Regions from separate parts of the Homo sapiens genome. Here region 1 is linked to region 2. Evidence: promoter capture Hi-C in 16 types of primary human blood cells and fetal thymus (Javierre and others, 2016). All regions are on one chromosome and are shown on one strand. The core of a region is centred on a gene start or on the middle of the fragment in contact, and the rest is flanking DNA. Distances in the headings are between cores, read along the strand shown.

Region 1 (7,587 bases), core at 2,842-5,341, 230 kb before region 2:
CACTCCTATCAGTCCCTGAGCCACCTGAGCCCCAGCCCAGAGCCTGGCTCATGGTGGGCCCACAGGACTCACCTAAAGAACAAAAGTGGCTGACAGAGAGCCTGCCCTTGTGCACTTTGGTGGGAAGGAGGACAATGGATCTGGGCTCATCCTAGAAGCCTAGAGGCCTCAGCCTTGCCCTAACTGTATAGGAAGTGTCATATCTGATGTGCTCCCTACCCAAAAGCCTACTCACCCTTGTATTTGAGGTGCTGCAGGATGGGGATTATGGTCTCCAGGGGAATATTGTGGGCCAGAAAGAGCTGCCAGGCACAATACTGCTCAAAGGTCTCCCAGTCTAGGCTCTGAACTGGAAGAGACAAAAGAAACATCTCTCTCAAGAATGAACAAACGAACACACACACACACACACCCCCCCCACCCCCCCATCCACTGACTACCAGCACACACACACACACACACACACACACACACACACACACACACACCCCAATCCACTGACTACCAGCACCCCAAGCAGGGATGTTACAGAGGTAGGACAGATCCAGAAAGATACTGCCCCAGACCGCACCAGGGTGGAGTACAATTCTCTCCCCTTAACTTCCCAGCCCCAGAACCAGCTTTCCTGATAGTGTAAAATACACAGGACTGACACCCTGCCCTCCTCTCCTCTCCCAGGCACCTAAAGATTTGATCACTTACTGAGTATGTTGAGAACTGAGTCTTTTCGAAACATAACCAGGTTACCCATCATCACGTGGCAGACCAGCTCCTGGAGCTAAGGAGGTGGAGGAAGGAGGCAGAACCCATCAGCTCTGAAAGGGGCCAGGAAGCTAGTATGGAGGGGGACGCAGGAGGGCTCGTAAGGGAAAAAAAAAAATTAGAGGAAGTGAAGGCCCAGTTTAAAGGAATGGGAAGGAGATGGCACACAACGAATGCTGCCATCTCTGAAGGATGAAGGGGCTGATAAAGTAAGGCCTGAGTGGGAACCTTAGGACTATTTTGGGCAAAAATAGTTACAGCCTTGGTCTAAGCCTGAGGAGGAAAGGACCCTGAGAGGCTGGGCTCTGGATGTAGGTTGGGCAGGGTAAAGACAAAGGAAGGAGGATTCTTGGGTGCTAAGCTTCCTCTTTTATGAATGAGAACTAAGTGGAGAGGAGGAGAAATGGGATCCCAGTGCAGGCCTCAGAAGGACCCGAGCAAAGCTACAGCCTCTTGGGGACCTTATGCATGGTAAAAAGGTCAAGTAGAAATGGTCTGACCATTTTCATTCCGAGCCAAAGGAAAGGCCAGTTGAGAGCTAAAATCACAACCCCCTCAGCTTTTGCTGTGGAACAGGAGTGCCCAAAGAATATGGAGAATAAGGGGAACTCCAGGCAGGATTGGCCTAACCTCAGCCTGCCTTGCTTGTGTTCCACTTTTCCTTCCCAGGCCCCATGGCTGAAAGCGCACACCACTGTAGCCAGGAGGGAGGGTGCCTGGGAGGCATGGGCTCCCTGTCTGCAGGCCTGGAGGGAGAGCAGAGGCCCTATGTCCCTAATGCTGCCTCCCAGATCTTCTGGGGAGGTCAGAGCTCAATGTTCACCTGTGCAGAGTCAATAACAGCCACGATCATGTTCAGCAGCTCTCCGCTCCTCAAGGTTTCATCTGGAAACTAAATGGAAAAAGAGAGGGGAAGAGTCCTGGATGGGCTCCTCAGCTTTTATCCCATAGCCCACTCTCCTTCCTTATTACATCTCAAGGTTTGACTGGGTCAGCCAGACACAGGCCCTAAAATAAACCCCTAAACAGAGATCCAACAGCTATGATGCTGGAAGACTTCAAGAACTTGAAGCCCCCAAGTTTTGTTATTTATGTGTGCACACCATCAGGGGTGTGGGTTTTCTCTGATACTTCCCAAAGCATGTGTGTACAGAAAGGAATGGGGAACTACTAGAGATAAAGCCAGAGCTGAGAGGACTGGCCATGGTGGCTGATTCTGTGTGGGAGCAGTGGTAGAATAAATATTTGCATCCCTGGCAGCAAAGAAGTCCAACCTGTGCTGACCTTTGGCCAAAGAGGTGGTGTAGAGAGTTTATGTCTGGAGGTGTGTGGGGTAGGCAGGGCCTCATCTAGAGAAGGGGGAGGAAAGTACCCTGTGTCCAGGATCTGCACCCCTCCTCCCTCCAGTACTCGGCTGAGATCACAGTTCCTCCTGTCATGCCCTGGGTCCTTATTTCCCTCTTCCTGGGAACTTCTACCAAGAGGAGAAAGGGCCGATACCTGTTATGTCCCAGTTCCTAGAGTGTGAGTGAACCAGGGGAAATGAAAGTGAGTCTCCACTACAGAAGCCCTGGTCATCAGGAACTATCAGAGAGAATCCAAGCAAGGGTGAGCCATCAGAGGACAAGAGGGCCTGGGACATATGAACATGGATCTGGTTTGTGGGATCTGTCCTGGGTCCAGATGATGGGGCCCAATCTGAGAAGCCAAGTATATAGGCTCAGACCCCAACGCACATCAGTTACACCAAAGTATAGGAATTCAGGGAGTTTTAGAAATGTTTCAACCACTAATAAAGAGAAGTGGAAGGAGGGGACAGCTGTGAGTGTGGGAAGCAATGGCCCACCTAGGTTAGTGGGGATGAACAAAAGAGGGTTCAGGGTTGTGTGTACTCAGAGTGTTCACTGAGGTGTGTTCCTGTGAGCCCCCCGGCACAGATACGGATGCAGGCACTGACCTCTGTGTAGATGGAGGGCGTGAGGTGGCACAGGAGCCGCACATCGTCCTCCTGGCAGGCCTTCATGTCCATCATCAGGCAGGTGTGCAGATCGCCCAGCTGGGTAGCCTGGGCAAATGACTCGTACAGGTTCATCTTCCCTGCGGCGGCTTTGCTGCAAGACCAGCTGGGCCTGAGCCAGCAGCCTGACCCCAGTGCCCACCTTCAAGCATCCCCGAAGCAGGCTCCCGCTCTAAAACTGCTTTGCTGGCTCCAGATGCCCTGTGCTAATCTGCCTCATGTCCCTCCCAACTGCCTCCCACAGGGGCTTGATAACTCAGGGGAACCAGGGGATACTCTTCTTTCTGTCCATCCTTCCCCAGAGCTCAAAAGGGCTCCAACCACGATCAGTGAGTGAAGCTACTGCCGGATGAGAGTCAGGAACAGAAGAGGGAGGGCTCAGGTCAGGCTGGAGAAGGCTTTCTCTCTTGCTTTCTGGGCTCTAACCATGAGGGCAGTGACACCTCACAGCATATACAAACTTAGCTCAAAATGGCTTGTAGGCCTAAATGTAAGAATTAAAGCCACACAACTTGTAGAAGAGAAAACAGGAGTAAATCTTCATGACAACAAAAACACAAGTGGTAAAAGAAAAAAATAGACAAATTTAGCTTCATAAAAAGTTAGCACTTTTTGTTCAAAAGATGCTATCAAAAAAGTTAAAACTCGCAGAATGGAAGAAAAAATATTTGCAAATCATTATGTCTGAGACTTGCATCCAGAATATATAAAGAACACTTTTGGTATGCAACAAAATCTTAAAAACATTCTTGAAAGTTGGCCGGGTATGGTGGCTCATGCCTGTAATCCCAGCGCTTTGGGAGGCAGAGAAGGGCGGATCACCTGAGGTCAGAAGTTCAAGACCAGCCTGGCCAACCAGCCTGGCCAACATGGTGAAACCCTGTCTCTACTAAAAATACACACACAAAAAGTTAGCCGGGCGTGGTGGTGTGCGCCTGTAATTTCAGCTACTCAGCAGGCTGAGGCAGGAGAATTGCTGGAACCTAGCATGCGGAGGTTGCAGTGAGTGGAGCTCGCGCCACTGCACTCCAGTCTGGGCAGCAGAGCGAGACTCTGCCTCAAAAAAAAAAAAAAAAAAAATCTTAAAAGTCAATAATAAAAAGACAAATAACTCAATTAAAAATAGGAACATTTTTGAATAGATATTTCTCCAAAGAAAATATACAAATGGCTGGGCCCGGTGGCTCACGTCTATAATCCTAGTACTTTGAGAGGCCGAGGTGGGCAGATCACCTGAGGTCAGGAGTTCGAGACCAGCCTGGCCAACACAGTGAAACCCCATCTCTACAAAAAAATACAAAAATTAACTGGATGTGGTGGCGTGCACCTGTAGTCCCAGCTACTCGGGAGGCTAAGGCAGGAGAATTGCTTGAACCCAGGAGGCGGAGGTTGCAATGAGCTGCGATCATACCACTGTACTCCAGCCTGGGTGACAGAGCAAGAATCCATCTCAAAACAAACAAATAAACAAAACAAAAATTAGCTGGGCGTGAAGATCTGTGCCTGTAATCCCAGCTACTCGGGAGGCTGAGGCAGGAGAATCGCTTGAACCTGGGAAGCGGAGGTTGCAGTGAGCCAAGATCGCACCACTGTACTCCAGCCTGGGCGACACAGCGAGACTCTGTCTCAAAAAAAAAAAAAAAAAAAAAAAAGAGAAAGAAAAAAGCAAGTCACAAAAGATCACATACAGTTTGATTCCATTTATCTGAAAATGTCCAAAATAATCTATAGAGGCAGAAAGCAGATCAGTGGTTGCCAAGAGCTGGGTGAAGGGGAGAAAATGGCAAAGTGATTGCTAATGAGTATGAGATTTCTTTTTGGGGTGATAAAAATGTTCTTTCTAAATCAGATAGTAGTGATAGTTGTATAACTTTGTGAATATACTAAAAAATTATTGAGGCCGGGCACAGTGGCTCACACCTGTAATCCCAGCACTTTGGGAGGCCAAGGTGGGTGGATCACCTGAGGTCGGGAGTTCGAGACCAGCCTGACCAACACAGAGAAACCCTGTCTCTACTAAAAATACAAAACTTAGCTGGGCGTGGTGGTGGGTGCCTGTAGTCCTAGCTACTTGGGAGGCTGAGGTGGGAGAATTGCTTGAACCCGGGAGGTGGAAGTTGCAGTGAGCTGAGATTGTACCACTGCACTCCAGCCTGGGTGACTGAGTGAGACCCTGTCTCAAAAAATAAATAAATAAAAATTTAAATTAAAAAAAAGCCTTAGGAGTACACAAGGCTTACTCAGAGTAGGGGAAAAAAAAACCCAAAACCAATAACTGGGCGTGATGGCGCATGCCTGTATGTAATCCTAGCTACTCAGGAGGCTGAAGCAGGACCATCACTTGAGCCCAGGAGTTTGAGACCATCCTGGGCAACAAAGTAAGACCCTGTCTCTACAAAAAAATTTTAAAAAATTATCTGGGCATGGTAGTGCATGCCTGTGTAGTCCCAGCTACTCAGGATGCTGAGGGGGGAGGATGGCTTGAGCCCAGGAGTCTGAAGCTGCAGTGAGTGACATGCACTGAGCCGCAGTGTCATCAGGTGACAGAGTGAGATGCTGTCTCTTAAAAACAAACCAACTCAACCAAACAGACCCACAAAGAAGGCCCTGGTGATGACAGTCCAGGGTTGGGGAGTCAGCGTGTGGAAGAGAGGCTCTCCAGGATGTGTCCTGACACCATTTGAAACATGGGGACCATACCCACCTGGCCCTCAGGTAGTAGAGCAGGTGGTAGCCAATCTTGGGCTGCTTCTGATATAGCTCGGAGAGAAGGTCTAGAAGTAGAGAGAAGCTGCTGTTGTCTTCCTGCATCTGACATAGGTTCCTGGAGGTGGGGCATGGGAGGAGAGGAACAGAACTTTACCCAGGGCAGACTCTCCCATGGAGTTTCTCAGGTGGCATGGGCTGTCTGTGCCCACAGCATATGTCCTCCTCCCTGGAAAGCGAGTCCCATTACCCCAGGACAGGAGCACATGTGTGTGCTGTCAGGGAGGATGGAGGGTAGAACAGTATCTCCTATAGCTGCGTGCTTACCTAAATATTAGGTACAGAGGCTTTCCTACAGACTCCTCCAGGGACCTACAAGAAGAGGGTTATATTTGAGAATCCATGTGAGGGGGGCTGCTGGCACATACGGAGGACCAGCTGGAGGCTAGACACCAGCCTGCTCCTTCCCTACCCAAAAGGCAAACTTCCTGCTGCTCCGCAGGCTTGGTAACAGAGAAAACAGGTTCCTAACATGGGACCACGCTCTTGCCCTTTGGAGACAGGCTCCAGGCCAAGGTCCAATCACACCTAATTCAGCAGATTAGAGTTACTGGGCCCAGCAGCAAGGGCTGGAAGCATGAGGAGGTGTCAACCTCCCCAGTACGCACGGTGTTCAGCAGGTAGAAATAAGCTCTTGTTTAAATGAGTTGGTACATGTGAGAATAAAAACACCAAGTGAACAGATTTTTCTCAAGTCTACAGTAAGGGGTCTCTTGGACTCAGGCTGTAAGAGCACCCTCTGGCTCCTGAGGCTCTGGAGTGAGGGAAAATCAGCCTTACTCCTCAGTAATCTCCTCAGGCAGGACCTCCCCTCGAAAGTGGGCCTTGAAGAGCTCCTGTAGGCAGGAAGCAAGGACAGACAGCTGCTCCGAGTCAAAGTCTTCCTGGGTGATGAGACAAGGGAGGGAGAGTCACTACCTACACCCAAGCCCTCCTGCCCCCACGATCCCAGTCTTGGAACTCATCTGCTTCCACCTCCAGGATCAGCAAGCTCCCCTCCCCACTATAAGAGGGACTCATCTAGGGGAGGGAAAAAGTGAGTTGTCTTCCCTGGGAGACGTGTAAGCTAAGCAGGCTAGGCTGCTTCCTCCCTAAGGGATTGGGTTCCTCCTCACCTCCAGGACCTGGTCCACAATTTCCTGCATGACCTCACACTGGGCCTCCGTATCACTGCAGGACAGAAATGAGAGGAAATCCCAGGGACATAAATGATAGCAGAGGGCAGGACACACACCCAGAACAGTGCACAAGCACACTCACATGCACAGAGACAAAACAAAGGAGCTCTGTGTAAAATCCCAGCTTGGATGGGGAGGCTTTAGGGCAGAATTGGCTGCTCTCTGGGCAGAGGCCCAAAGAAAAGGAAAATCCCCACCAATCCTGCCTTGGTTCTCAGAGGTTCTTCTCCCAAGAATCTGCAGAGTGGGAACTCAAGGTGTTACGGAATGAGGCTGCCCCACTCCCAGCTCATACTCCCTAACGTAAAGTGCAGAAGAACTCCCTCATGAAGCTTCAGCTACCTCTCCACACACTCCTATCATGTTTGCCTCCAACCCCCATCTCCTGCTATACCCATTAAGCACCAGGTAGAGAGCCTGGGGCTGAACCTCCTGAAGTTGAGAACAAGGTCTGTACCCACCTCCCCTTCTGTAGCTGGAGTACTTTGTCCCTCAGGGACTCATCCAACTGGTCAAGGTAAGGGGTGATATCAACTGGCTCCTCCACAACTGTCTCCTTGATAGGGTGGAAGCGAAACTCCCTCTTCTTTCCTAAAGGGAGTGATTTGGGAAAGAAGTCAGTTTGCCCAGATGCCAGCAACAGAGACAGTCCCCTCAATGACTTATCCCCTTCCTCACATGCCCTAAGTGTGCACCTGTTTCCTCAATGCTGTGTGAGTGCCTGAAGCATCTCCCTGACTGTGCACATGTACTAGCTCTTACAAGCAAACAAGGGCAGGAACCACTTCTTTTTTCCTTCCTGCCTTGAGTGTTAAGTACAGGGCTCTGCATTCTGGAGTCTCATCCAGATACCCTGTGAACAAA
Region 2 (6,700 bases), core at 3,069-5,568:
TGGGTTCCAGTCTCTTGTTCTTTGAGGGAGGGGCCTCAGAGGTAGGCTAGTGCTGCTGGTGGTGACTTCCTGAGGAATGGGATCTTCCCCTCTCCCTCTACAGAGCTGCACACTGTGATGGAGACTCCTCTGGAGAAGGCCCTGACCACTATGGTGACCACGTTTCACAAATATTCGGGGAGAGAGGGTAGCAAACTGACCCTGAGTAGGAAGGAACTCAAGGAGCTGATCAAGAAAGAGCTGTGTCTTGGGGAGGTAGGTGATTGTTCCCTCATCCTCCACCCCAAAGTCTGAGTACTCCCTCTGGGGGACACATACCTACCCTCAGGATCCTCCAGCCTAAGCCAGGGGCAGGGTGGCCAAGGGCTACAGACAGAGACAAAGGAAGATGGTGGGGATTTCGGGCCAGCAAAACTCTAGCCCTCTGTGAAGGAGAATGGGTCAGGGTCTCACTGAGAAGGAGGAAGGGCTGAGTCTGGAGGGTTTAGAGAAGGAGATTGAGGAGCCTTCGATGGTGGGGCCAGGCTCTCCCAGCAGTGGCAGAACCTGTGCTAGGGGTCATGGGTGGTGAAGGGATGCAGGGTGTCCAGGTCCAGCTGTGTACAACTCAAGTGTAGGGACTCTGCCTGATTCTTCTCTGTGTGCACAGCATGGCCAGGGCTCTCTGATGGTGCTGGCACTCAAACTGAAAGGTTAACTTGTAAACATAGGGTAGTGAGGAGACAGAACTGGTTCTCACCAGATGGAGGTGGTGGGAGGGAGGTGACTGACAGAGGGGAAGGCCCATGAGGTTATTATAATACAATATCCCCGAGGATAAATAAATAAATAAATATATATATATATATATATATATATTTTTTTTTTTTTTTTTTTTTTTTTTTGAGAGAGTCTCGCTCTGTCACCCAGGCTGGAATGCAGTGACATGATCTTGGCTCACTGCAACCTCCGCCTCTCAGGTTCAAGCGATTCTCCTGCCTCAGCCTCTTCAGTAGCTGGGATTACAGGCACGCACCATCACGCCCAGCTAATTTTTGTATTTTTAGTAGAGATGGGGGTTTCACCATGTTGGTCAGGCTGGTCTCGAACACCTGACCTCGTGATCCATCTGCCTCGGACTCCCAAAGTGTTGGGATTACAGGCGTGAGCCACTGCGCCTGGCCAAGGATAAATATTTTTGAGACAGAGTCTCACTCTGTCACCCAGGTTAGAGTGCAGTGGTGCGATCATGGCTCACTGTAGCCTTGAACTTTCAGGCTCAAGTGATCCTCTTACCTCAGCCTCCTGAGAAGCTAGGACTACAAGCAAATACCACCACGCTTAGATAATTTTTAAAATTTTTTGTAGAGATGGGGTCTCACTATTTTACCCAGGCTGTTCTTGAACTCCTGGCCTCAAATGATCCTATCGCCTCAGCCTCCCAAAGTGCTGAAATTACAGGCATGAGCCACTGTGCCTAGTCTTATTATTTTTATAGTTAAAAAAAATCAATGCTCAAATACATCAAATAACTTGCCTAAGGACAATCCGCTAGTGGGAGGCTGAGCTGGAGTTCTGGGCCAGGCCTGTGAATCATCCTCCCTGTTTCCTTTAAAATTTAGCCTGGGTGCCTCTCCATCTATCACACCTTGAGCCCTGGTAGGCCCTCCCAGAAAGAAGGTCCACAGTGTGCCACATGGGCAGGGGACAGAAGCAGGTATGGGCGTCCCCAGGCCTGATCTCTGGCCTTCTGCCAGGCTGCCTGCATCCTGGAGGTTAATGAGGGCAGAGGGAGGGGCCACAGGTCCAGCAGGGATTAATTACAGAAGGAGAGACGCCCAGAGGAGGGCCTGGCAATAACAGGAGCCCAGGCTGGGGACTAGGATCACGTGACAGACAAGCAGTTTCCGCCTTTGTAAGTCCCAATGTCTCCTGTGAAAACCTGTAGCTGACGGCAATGATGAGGAGACATCAGGATCTGCTTGTCTATATTTTCTTCCTGTTCCACCCAAAGGACCCTGACTCCATCGTCCTAATGGAGCCAGGCTGGGACATCAGGGGACTGAACAACAGTGCACAACCAGGCTCCAGGCAGGCCTCTTGCACAGCTCTCCTAGCAGGGGAGGGATGCAGTGGCTTCACAGCCCCAGTGCACTGCTCTCATTGAGAGACATTTTGTCCGGGGTTATTCTCACCTAGTCCTTAGAATGGGGAGAGAGTCACTCAGAGACTTGGATAATGCTCAATGCCACATAATCAGCAAGGTGTTCTTTTTTTTTTTTTGAGAAGGAGTTTCATTCTTGTTGCCCAGGCTGGAGTGCAATGGCATGATCTTACTTACTGCAACCTCCGCTTCTCAAGTTCAAGCGATTCTCCTGCCTCAGCCTTCCAAATAGCTGGGATTACAGGGATGTACCACCATGCCTGGCTAATTTTGTATTTTCAGTAGAGACAGGGTTTCACCATGTTGGTCAGGCTGGTCTCGAACTCCTGATGTCAGGTGATCCACCCGCCTCGGCCTCCCAAAGTGCTAGGATTACAGGTGTGAGCCACCACACCTGACCCAGCAAGCTGTTTTTATCAGGTGTTGGTATAAAACCTAGATGATTGTTTCTTTGGCTGGGGGACAGTATTGCAGGGAAGGCAGGCTAGGCTAGCATTCCTGCTGTCATTTATTTCCATTCAGGAGTCAGGTCCCTGACCCCCTACCTCATGCCAGGCCCTTCCCTAGGTGTGGGCAGTGGGCAGACTCTGGGGGTCGAGATGCTGACAGTGTCATTGACTCAGCTGGGGCTCACCCTGAAGTTTCGGGGTGGGGATGACACCATGCAGTGGTGCGAGGGCAGGGCTGGGAGCGGGGTCTGAGCTGTCTCTCCACCTGGGTCCACAAAAGATGAAGGAGAGCAGCATCGATGACTTGATGAAGAGCCTGGACAAGAACAGCGACCAGGAGATCGACTTCAAGGAGTACTCGGTGTTCCTGACCATGCTGTGCATGGCCTACAACGACTTCTTTCTAGAGGACAACAAGTGACCAGGGCTGCCCTCCACCCTCACCCTCCACCCTTTGCTGCTGACCTCGGCTGCTCCTCTCACAGACCCTCTTTGGCCCCCTGCCCTCCTCTCCCTCCCAGATGGACCCTTCCATGGGAGGAAATAAAGTTTCCATCGCAGGTGCTGGGAGTCTGGTTTTGAAGCTGTCTTGTCTACCTTGGCCTGGGGAGAGGGGAGCACAGGAAGGGTCTCTCCTTGAGTGGGTTGAGACAGCTTCTGCCTCTGGGGGTTAGGGTCCTGGGCTCCCACTGCATTCCTCTCCTTCTTTGGTGTGGACGTCATTGGTTTTGTCATGGCTTAGTTTTGCCTGCCTGGAAAATGGGGAAGTTAGGCCAGGCGGGAACTCTGCAAGGATGCAGAGGAAGTTAAGAGGGAAAGTTGCTTTGAGAGGAGGACACTGGGAGGGGTTGGGAGTGGCTCCTGAGGGCGGTGATAGGCAGGCAGGCCTGACTTGTCCACAGCTCACCGGAGGCCACCTTGGCAGCACCTGTAGGAAGGGCATGTCTGGCCTCCACACCAGCCCCCTCCCTCTTCACCATTTCCCCTTCAATAGCACCACTCTCATCATCTATGGGGGACAGTGCTTTCTTCTCTCCCTGCCTCCTCCATCAAAATCTTTTCTCAGGGGAGGGTCTGAAAAGGCCTTCACTCCCCCGTAAATAACGAATGGTGCTTACAGGGCTGGGCTCCCACGTGCATGCACATTAACACCAAAGGTGCTGTAGTGAATGGAATTTGGGGCACTGAGGGGAAGGAGTGGAGGTGTTGGTAGGAACTTGTTGCTGGTGGGGGATGGGCGCCGTAGATATCCTTTACACCACTGGCTACTCCCCCTATCTCCTCTGGGGTGACCCTGAGTATCCTCTGTGGGACACCGGCATCCTGTGAGGCGCCCTCCTTGCCCACATTGACGCTGCGCTGGCTCGAGGGTCACATTCACGGTCTGGCAGAGGAAGCAGGGGTGACCGCCGCAGTCCTCCTCCTGCTCCCCTTGCCGAGTCACGTGTCACGAAGAGCAAACTGAGCAAACTGAGCTGCGCAGATGAGGGGAGACTCGTCACCAGGCGTGCAGTGGGCACTGCTGGGCTCCCCCATCCCGTCCTAACCCGGAACAGCCCCGGGCAGGAGGCGTGGAAAGTCGAGGGGGTAAACCGCGAATGTGCGTTGTGTAAGCCACGGCGCAGGGTGGGGCGCGGGCGGGACTTGGGCGGGCGGGGTGGGCTTGGCCGAGCTGGCCTCCGGGGCACCGACCGCTATAAGGCCAGTCGGACTGCGACACAGCCCATCCCCTCGACCGCTCGCGTCGCATTTGGCCGCCTCCCTACCGGTGAGTTCTCTCCAGGAGCCCTGGGTACTTTCCAGGGCCAGCTGCCCTCACGCTGGGGGTCCAGCCATCCCCTGCCCAGTTCAGCCGCTGGATCCAGACTGGGGCCATCTGTGGCGCTCCCCCGCTGGAGGGATAGTCAGGAGCAGCAGTGCTGTGCCAGGCAGGCCTTGGGCTAAGGGATCGCAATGGGGTGTGCTCTTTTGGGGTGCGGAAGGGAGTGCCCTGGGTGTGTCATTGCCACCATGTGTGGCCCTGTGAAGCTGTGTTTAAGCTGCCTTTGCAGCCTCCATTCCCCTCCCCTGCCCAGCCATACTCCTCAACTTCTGGATCCCCTGAAGGACAGTTCTCAGCTGTGCCCAAAGCTACTGTTCCTATATGCTTCTTAGAATCCTTAAGCCACCTCTCTTGCCTTGGCCCTAGTGTGCTCTCTCCTTCCCCTTCAAGCCCTGGGCTGTCTCCTGATGCCATTGTGTGTGGCCTGAGACTGGGTGGTTCCAAAGGAGGCGGGGCTAGTGCAGGCAGCATTATTGGGGTGTGTGGGTGAGAAGTCCTTGCTCCCATGGCACTGACTAGGCCCTCTGCTGCCAGCTCCAAGCCCAGCCCTCAGCCATGGCATGCCCCCTGGATCAGGCCATTGGCCTCCTCGTGGCCATCTTCCACAAGTACTCCGGCAGGGAGGGTGACAAGCACACCCTGAGCAAGAAGGAGCTGAAGGAGCTGATCCAGAAGGAGCTCACCATTGGCTCGGTGAGTGGCCTCCTCCCCAGGACCCCTTTTCCCACCCTTGTCCTTTGGAAGCAGGATTAGGGGAGAGAGAGGTGCCAGGTGCATCTGACTCACATTTACCCACATTCTGAGGCCCTGGTCCACATGTAGACCCTGAGCTGTAGACCCACTCTCCCAGCGGGTAGGGGATGCTTCCAGCCGGATATCCATCTCTCCAAATGAGGACCAGTAACTGAGAAGTAGCTGAGGAGAAGCAATGCCAAAGTGACATGGGTCCTTGGTGATGAGGGAGCACAGAGCCACTTGCAGAGAGGATTGCCTGGGAGGGGGAAGGGGAAGAATCCAGGGTTGTCATCACCACTGAGTATGGATTTCACATTCTAACACATTAGAAGCTGCAGGATGCTGAAATTGCAAGGCTGATGGAAGACTTGGACCGGAACAAGGACCAGGAGGTGAACTTCCAGGAGTATGTCACCTTCCTGGGGGCCTTGGCTTTGATCTACAATGAAGCCCTCAAGGGCTGAAAATAAATAGGGAAGATGGAGACACCCTCTGGGGGTCCTCTCTGAGTCAAATCCAGTGGTGGGTAATTGTACAATAAATTTTTTTTGGTCAAATTTACCCTTGCGTCCTGGCTTCCGAATGATTTCTGTTCCTCCTTGGCTTAGTGGGACACCAGCCATTGGAAGATTTGCTCACGGTCAACCTCTGAAAATGACTCATTGACTCGCCAGGCCAGAGGACCCACCCTGACAAGGCTGCCTCTAGCACATAAGGTGCCTTTATGTGAATGAGGAGAGATGCCCCTCTTGGCAACGCCATCCTAAGGAAAGGCTCAAGTGGTTTCCAGTAGAGAGAGTCCTGGGATGAGCTTGGAGATGGAAATGGTCCCTGGGCCGGGATGTGATGGGGTTTGGGGGCCTGGAAGTGAGGCAGAGATAGTCCCAGAGGCTCCCAGATGTGTTTTGCTCTGGGTGTGGCAAGAGGGGCCCTGGGGTGGGGCAAGTCCCCTTTCTCATCACAGCGCAGGGGTTAGATAGGGCACATCTGAGATGCCTGAGGCTTGGCTCAGGGAGTTTCCTACACCAGTGAGGACGCTGTGTGACTGAGTCTACTGCGGCTGCCCAGGTCCCAGGTGGAGTGGGGGAGGCACACTCTTGGAGTGTGTCCCTGCATTCAGGGTGAGGGCTTTTTGTTGGAACGGTGGTCTGAGGAGCTGGCAGCTGCACCAACACGTGAACCACGGGGTGTTCAGTAATGGGGCGGGGTATCCCTGCAGCCTCAGCGTAATGACTCACCCGGCACTTCCACGGGATCCCAGCCTGGATCTCAGCCCCCATCAGAGAAGATGACTAATTGAATCATTGTCCATCATCTGGATTAGTGTTTTCAGGCAGAAGGGAAGAGGATAAGGAGGGTAAACGCTGTTTCCGGGTGATGCCACATCATTCAGCCTCTCTAGGCCTAGTCCGAGCTGGGCAAGTTTACCTCTAGCTTCTGGGGAAGAGATCTTGACTTTAGATGGAGACCACATCCTTCTTTCCCTCTCACCTCCCCACTTCCCTTGGGGGTCCAACTTTGTGGAATTAAGTTGTCTTCTGTCCCCACTGG

What was found. The method cuts DNA at HindIII sites, captures the fragments that hold promoters and counts their contacts. A CHiCAGO score of 5 or more calls a contact.
Region 1: a contact is called between a fragment that was not itself captured here and the fragment with the promoter of S100A6 in region 2, in 1 of 17 cell types (M0 macrophages). The highest score is 5.0, in M0 macrophages.

What each region holds. Positions count from the first base shown.
Region 1 is chr1:153,762,960-153,770,546 of GRCh38, reverse strand. INTS3 (integrator complex subunit 3) reads right to left here. Exons shown (of 30, transcript NM_023015.5): 16 at 7,185-7,314; 17 at 6,661-6,715; 18 at 6,326-6,429; 19 at 5,813-5,857; 20 at 5,484-5,603; 21 at 2,720-2,873; 22 at 1,586-1,654; 23 at 703-778; 24 at 236-349. Among named protein-coding and RNA genes, the nearest start is that of SLC27A3, 8.7 kb to the left of the region's middle. The HindIII fragment of the contact is 5,932 bases long and covers 1,126-7,057 here.
Region 2 is chr1:153,533,609-153,540,308 of GRCh38, reverse strand. S100A6 (S100 calcium binding protein A6) reads left to right here and starts at 4,318. Exons shown (of 3, transcript NM_014624.4): 1 at 4,318-4,360; 2 at 4,949-5,107; 3 at 5,479-5,710. The coding sequence starts at 4,970. The coding sequence ends at 5,613. S100A5 (S100 calcium binding protein A5) reads left to right here. Exons shown (of 3, transcript NM_001394232.1): 2 at 104-255; 3 at 2,873-3,162. The coding sequence starts at 118. The coding sequence ends at 3,013. It overlaps LOC124904423 (a long non-coding RNA gene), which reads right to left. Exons shown (of 2, transcript XR_007066630.1): 1 at 6,388-6,700; 2 at 2,634-5,405. RefSeq lists enhancers at 3,693-4,328, 6,282-6,576. The HindIII fragment of the contact is 28,060 bases long and covers 1-6,700 here.